2 separate regions of the Homo sapiens genome follow, and region 1 is linked to region 2. The links are contacts of gene promoters, found by promoter capture Hi-C in blood cells and fetal thymus (Javierre and others, 2016). All regions are on one chromosome and are shown on one strand. The core of a region is centred on a gene start or on the middle of the fragment in contact, and the rest is flanking DNA. Distances in the headings are between cores, read along the strand shown. Region 1 overlaps TDRD10 (tudor domain containing 10). Region 2 holds the start of AQP10 (aquaporin 10).

What was found. The method cuts DNA at HindIII sites, captures the fragments that hold promoters and counts their contacts. A CHiCAGO score of 5 or more calls a contact.
Region 1: a fragment that was not itself captured here is called in contact with the fragment with the promoter of AQP10 in region 2 in 2 of 17 cell types (M1 macrophages and endothelial precursors); the score reaches 5.5 in M1 macrophages.

Annotation. Positions count from the first base shown.
Region 1 is chr1:154,532,264-154,535,494 of GRCh38, forward strand. All of the region lies in intron 6 of TDRD10 (tudor domain containing 10), which reads left to right. Among named protein-coding and RNA genes, the nearest start is that of UBE2Q1-AS1, 20 kb to the right of the region's middle. The HindIII fragment of the contact is 1,517 bases long and covers 1,026-2,542 here.
Region 2 is chr1:154,319,632-154,322,626 of GRCh38, forward strand. AQP10 (aquaporin 10) reads left to right here and starts at 1,462. Exons shown (of 6, transcript NM_080429.3): 1 at 1,462-1,629; 2 at 2,302-2,428. The coding sequence starts at 1,525. RefSeq lists a silencer at 1,241-1,432. The HindIII fragment of the contact is 12,155 bases long and covers 1-2,995 here.

The DNA.
Region 1 (3,231 bases), core at 534-3,033, 210 kb after region 2:
GAAATCAAGCGCAGCACCAGTGGGCCAGCACTGCTGCGGGACCTGGTGCACCCTCCGCAGCTGCTGGCCTGGGTGCTAAGCCCCTCACTGCCCGGGGCCGCTCTGAGTGCGGCCCGCAAAGCCCACGCCCACCCAGAACTCTAGCTGTCCTGCAAGCACCGCGCGCAGCCCTGGTTCCCACCTGTGCTTCTCCCTCCACACCTGCCTGCAAGCCGAGGGAGCCAGCTCTGGCCTCGGCCAGCCCAGAGAAGGGCTCCCACGGTGCAGCGGCGGGCTGAAGGGCTCCTCAAGCGCGGCCAGAATGGGCGCCGAGGCTGAGGAGGCACCGAGAGCGAGCGAGGGCTGCGAGGGCTGCCAGCACGCTGTCGCCTCTCATTTTTTTCATTCCATGTGAAATTTTCCTGGTTCTTGGTATGATGAGTGAGTTTCACTGGAAACTTGGACATTTTCTTGTTACGTTGCTAGACTAGATTTTGTATACACCTTGTGTTTTAACTGGCTTCCTCTGATGCTGCTCCCACAGGGGAACACGGTACTGCCTCGCTGCTGCCAGGTGAGGATGGAAGTCAGGCTCCCTACTCAGCCTCTAAGGCGGCAGCGAGCCCCTTGTTACTGCCAGTTCTAGTTTGTGGTCTCCACTGACATCTTGGCGTGGATGGCTTCATTACCGCTGAGGAAAGTCTTGACTCTCCACTACACTTCTGACACCCCCCCCAGTAGGGAGAGAGAGGGGGGCTTTCTCTCTGTGAGGTGGGTATGGAAGTCCAGGATTCCCAAGTGGTTTCTATTGACACCCAGGCAGGGTGGTGGTAGGGAGAGACCGGTTTCTTTATTGGGTAGGGGATGAAATTCCTGGCTGCCTGCTTGGCCCTTTGTGACACCATCAGGGTGGGGGTATTGGGCGACTCATCCCAGCCCCATGAGGGCAGAAGTCTGGGCCCTGCATGCTGTCTTTGTTGGCATGCGTGGAGGTGGGATCTCCTTGTTGGTGGCATTTAGCTGGAGTAAAGGAGTTATTATCTACAAGCTTTCTGTCTTCCTAGCCTGTCTCTTCTGGTGCTTTGGCTAGAAAGAGCAGGCTTTTGTTGGGTTTTTTTTTTTTTTTTTTCTGGACCTACTGGTGTTTCTGGGTTGCTGGCCTCTTCAATTCTAAGTTTGGAATATATAAAGCAAAAGGAAAACCCAGAGAAGTCATCACCACGTTGTACCCTGGGTTCCAAGGTCTCTGGTCAGCCTGTTCCCTTCTCTCCATCTTTCAGAGTCTTCTTATGTTTGTTTTACATGTAATGTCCTGGGCTCTTAGTTGTGTTTAACAAAACTAAGATGAAGTATGTATATTTCATCTTCTCAGAGTGGAGGTTCTAAGAATGGTTTTTATTTATTTATATTTTTAGAGCAGGGTCTTGCTCTGTTGCCCAGACTGGAGTGCAGTGGTGTGATCTGAACTTACTGCAGCCTCGAACTCCTGGGCTCAAGCAGTCCTGCCTCAGCCTCGTGAGTAGCTGGGACTACAGGCGTGTACCACCATGCCCAGCTGATTTGGCCTCAAGCAATCCTCCTGCTTTAGCCTCCCAAAGTGCTGGGATTGCAGGGCAGCCACTGTGCCCAGCCATATATATATATATATATATTTTTTTTTAATTTTCTATTGTTTGTAGAGATGGGGTCCCACTATGTTGCCCAAGCTGGTCTTGAACTCCTGGCAAGCAATCCTCGTGTCTCCACTTCCCAAACTGCTGGGATTATAGGCGTGAGACCCCCCAGCCGTATTTTTAAATGGGAAAAAAAATGAAGAATATTTCATGACACATGAAAATTGTATGAAATTCAGTTTGTGTCCATGAAACATTCCTGGCATGCAGCCTCAGCCATTTGTTTACAGATTGCCTGTGGCTGCTTCCTCACTACAGCAGCAGAGTGGACTCATGACAGACAGTAAGGCCCCCAAAATCTAAAATATTTACTATCTGGCCCTTTGCAGAAAAAGTTTGCCAGTTCCTGGGTTAAGATCTAGGCTATTTTTTAAAAAACAAAAATAAACAGGATGAAAATGCCTGGAAATCAATGCAAGAAAGAAACAACCTAATAGAAAAATGGGCAAGAGCTAGGAATAGGCACCTTTTGTAGGTGAAGATGCATAAAAGCCAGGCTGCAACTTTCCCGTTGCTTACCACGAGGTGGCAGTTTCTGACAACACCTGGTGGTTTTCCATAGCCTGCTCCGATCAAGTCAGCCACCTTTGATGCTCCTGGTTTCCATGGCTTTGCCCATCCTGGTAGAACTATCCGCTGAAGGAGTGGGGAGTGGGGAAGCCCCAGATGCTCACTGTTTTCGTACAAAGGTCAGTCGTTGTTGTTATTGTTTTCTTTTTAATAGATGTTTTCAATTTCTTGTATGCTTCAGTCAATTTCCAGAGTCCTGAAGTGATTGTTTTTGACAATTTGTCAAGATTTGTTATTGCTTTTTGGGGAGAGGATTTGTTGATTGAAATATTTTGTAGTGAAATTGTTTTAAAGAAAAGAAAAGGTAAAATTAGAAGATAAGCTTACGTGGCACAACACGCATCCAGGCAGTGTTCAGGTCAGCGTGGGGGAGAGATTATCAAATGATATAAGATAATTTCCCATGGGTGAAGGATGTGAGTTTTCAGATACAAAGCAGCCAATGAGTGCCCAGGATAATGAATGGGAAAATAAAAACCTACATGAAGGCACTTTACAGAAGTATTTTAGAATACTAGGGATAAAGCTTTAGGAAGAGAATCCACATTGAAGGATATGGAATCAGGTGGTGTGATTGAATTCTTCAGGAAAATAATATCCAAGCCCAAACAAGTCAGTCAAGAATAAGGGTAGCACTTTGGGAGGCCGAGGTGGGCGGATCACTTGAAGTCAGGAGTTTGAGACCAGCCTGGCTAACATGGTGAAACTCCATCTCTATTAAAAATACAAAAATTAGCCAAGCGTGGTGGTGCACACCTGTAATTCCAGCTACTCGGGAGGCTGAGGCAGGAGAATCCCTGGAACCTGGGAGGCAGAGGTTGCAGTGAGCTGAGATCATGCCACTGCACTCCAGCCTGGGCATCAGAGTGAGACTCCATCTCAAGAAAAAAAAAAAAAGAGAGAGAGAATATAAGGGTAAGCCATCTGCAGTGGTGTGTACCTGTAATCCCAGTGCTTTGGAATTTGGGATTTGGGAAGCTGAGGTGGGAGGATTGCTTCAGGCCAGGAG
Region 2 (2,995 bases), core at 212-2,711:
GCCCTCAAGAACTTCATAAACTGTATATGGTATTTTAAAAAGTTGCATATTGTCTGTTTCCACCTACTAGAACATAAGCTCTAGGAGGGCAGAGACTATGTTTTGTTCACCACTGTTTCTCCAGTGTCTAGACGTAGATTCTTTGAATGCATTTAATTGGAGCCTTGAGATATGAAGAAGTAGGATGCGGTTACTTCATGCAGAGCAAGAGTGGCATGCACCCAGAGAAGGCCAGGTGGAGCTCAGCATGAGTGTGAAGGCCTCATGTCAAGCCATGTCAGGGGACACAAAGATGGAGTATTCTCTAACCTATGTGACACTCGGCATAAGGGAAGTACAAGCACTCAATATGTGAGTTTCATTCCCACAGTCTGTGGTCTTTAGCCCAGTCTTTCCAGATGCCTATTGAGTTCTTCAAGCATCCAAATGGTTTGGGGTAAGGCTTCAGGTTCTAAATGAGAGGCTTTGTGGGTTACCAGCTGGAGAGTCAGAAAATCTGGATTTGAATTCACTCAGCCATGAAATAATTGTGTGATCTTGGGCCGGGCACGGTGGCTCACGCTTGTAATCCCAGCACTTTGGGAGGCCAAGGAAGGTGAATCACTAGAGGTCAGGAGTTTGAGACCAGCCTGGCCAACATGGTGAAACCCCGTCTTTTTTTTTTTTTTTTTTTTTGAGACAAAGTCTCGCTCTGTTGCCAGGCTGGAGTGCAGTGGCACAATCTCGGCTCACTGCAACCTCCGCCTCCCTGGTTCAAGTGATTCCCCTGCCTCAGCCTCCCGAGTAGCTGGGACTACAGGCGTGCACCACCACGCTAATTTTTTTGTATTTTAGTAGAGATGGAGTTTCACCATGTTGGCCAGGATAGTCTTGATCTCCTGACCTCGTGATCTGCCTGCCTCGGCCTCCCGAGAAACCAAGTCTTTACTAAAAAATATCAAAATTAGCCAGGTGTGATGGACCTGTAGTCCCATCTACTTGGGAGGCTGAGGCAGGAGAATTGCTTGAACCTGGGAGGTGGAGGTTGCAGTAAGCTGAGATGGTGCCACTGCACTCCAGCCTGGGGGACAGAGCAAGACTCTCTCTCAGAAAAAAAAAAAAAAAAAGTTTGATCTTGGGGAGTTCTAAGGCCCACTAGCCTCATCTGTAGAATGGAAGCAATAGTACTACTTTGCAGAGCTGACTTCAGGACCAAGAGATCTAATGTCTATGAAGCGGGGTACTTCCTTCTATTTGTCAGGATGGGGGAGGCTAGTCCTGTGATGACTGGGAATGAAGGGTAAAAGAGACAGAGGTTGGGTAAACTCCAGGCTCTGTGTTCATAGCCTGCTCCCAGACATTCTCTTGTTATCTCTCTGTTTCCTAGCCTACACACGTGCACAGACACGTAGCTGCTGTTCAGGAACTGAGCTAATGGTTTTAAAGTCTGTTCCTTATCTTTGCTGGAGGCAGGCAGTAGCTGTGCAGTGACAGTGTGCCTATGCAGACAGAGGGAGCAGTGAATAGCAATAGGGTGTTTCCACCATGGTCTTCACTCAGGCCCCGGCTGAAATCATGGGCCACCTCCGGATACGCAGCCTCCTGGCCCGGCAGTGCCTGGCAGAGTTTCTGGGTGTGTTTGTACTCATGGTAGGTAGGATCACTGCGGGAAGGAAAGAAGGGGGTTGGGCAAAAGTTCCTGGCTCCTTCTGTTGTCCTTATCTCTTTCTCTTGGTGTCCCCCTTCCTCTCAACTCCCTATCACTTTTCGTTTTTATCCTCTCGTCTCTCCTAATCTCCTTTCCTCTCCTACTTCATCATTTTTATTCTTGTCATTTTTATTCTTTCTTTAATAACAAGTGTATCATAGTTCTTGAAACATAATTTTTCTCTCTTCAGTTTCCCATTTTTATGAAAGACCATTTTCATGGTAAGACCAATGTGCTTTATTATACTTGGCCTGATGATTGTATAAAGTGCAGCAAGAATAATTATTTTTCACATAGGCTTTTAAAATTGGCTTTGATGGAACTCTTCCATAGAAAGAATCTTAGATAAGACTTTTTAAAGCTGAGCCCTGCCATGGGTTTGTACCCTCAAATGCCTATGAGTTGGGTAAATTCTTTTCTTTTTTCCCACATTCTTTCCCTTTCTTCTTCCTCCACTTTCCCCATTTCTTTTCCCTTCCCTCCTTCTGCTTTTCTCCTTCCCTTGCTTGTCTTCTGTGCTCATTCATCTCCTTGGCTGCTCCCCTGGCCTTCCCAACCTTTCTCCCTGTTGGTCTCCTGGGCTCCCTGTTCCTCATCTCTCCTCTTCTCAGCAGCTCCTCACCCAAGGAGCTGTGGCCCAGGCTGTCACCAGTGGAGAAACCAAAGGCAACTTCTTCACCATGTTTCTGGCTGGCTCTCTGGCCGTTACGATAGCCATCTACGTGGGTGGTAACGTCTCAGGTGAGGAGGGTGGGGTCTGGTCATCAGAGCACGTGGGATGTGCATGCCAGTTTGTCTGTCTGGTGATGGTGGAAACGCAAATCCTTCTGTGACTCGTGGACATTATCCCCTTGAACAGTGTCCCAGACTGAAATAAGCCTTTGGCCCCACCAGCCCCTCCTCTTTCTGTATCTCTCCATCCTGCTTCCTCACACTAATGCTTGGCTCACCTAGACAGAAATCAATGGCAGGGCACGAAGGGCAGCTGCTATCCTCTTGTATCCCCCACCTGAAGTCCTCTGGGGGCTCATCTCCACTCAGGACCTCTCCTGTTTGTACCCCAGATACACACTGCATCGGTGTGCTTGGGTGGAGCCTTGAGACATAGTGTGTTGCTGTGGAAAAAGCAGACAGACCTAGGTTCCAACTTTGGATTCACAGTGTCTTCTTCTTTTTTTTTTTTTTTTTTCTTTTTTTTTGAGATGGAGTTTCACTCTGTTGCCCAGGCTGGAGAGCAGTGGTGTGATGTCTGTTCACTGCAACCTCTGCCCCTGGGTTCACGCGATTCTCCTGCCTCAGCATCCCGAA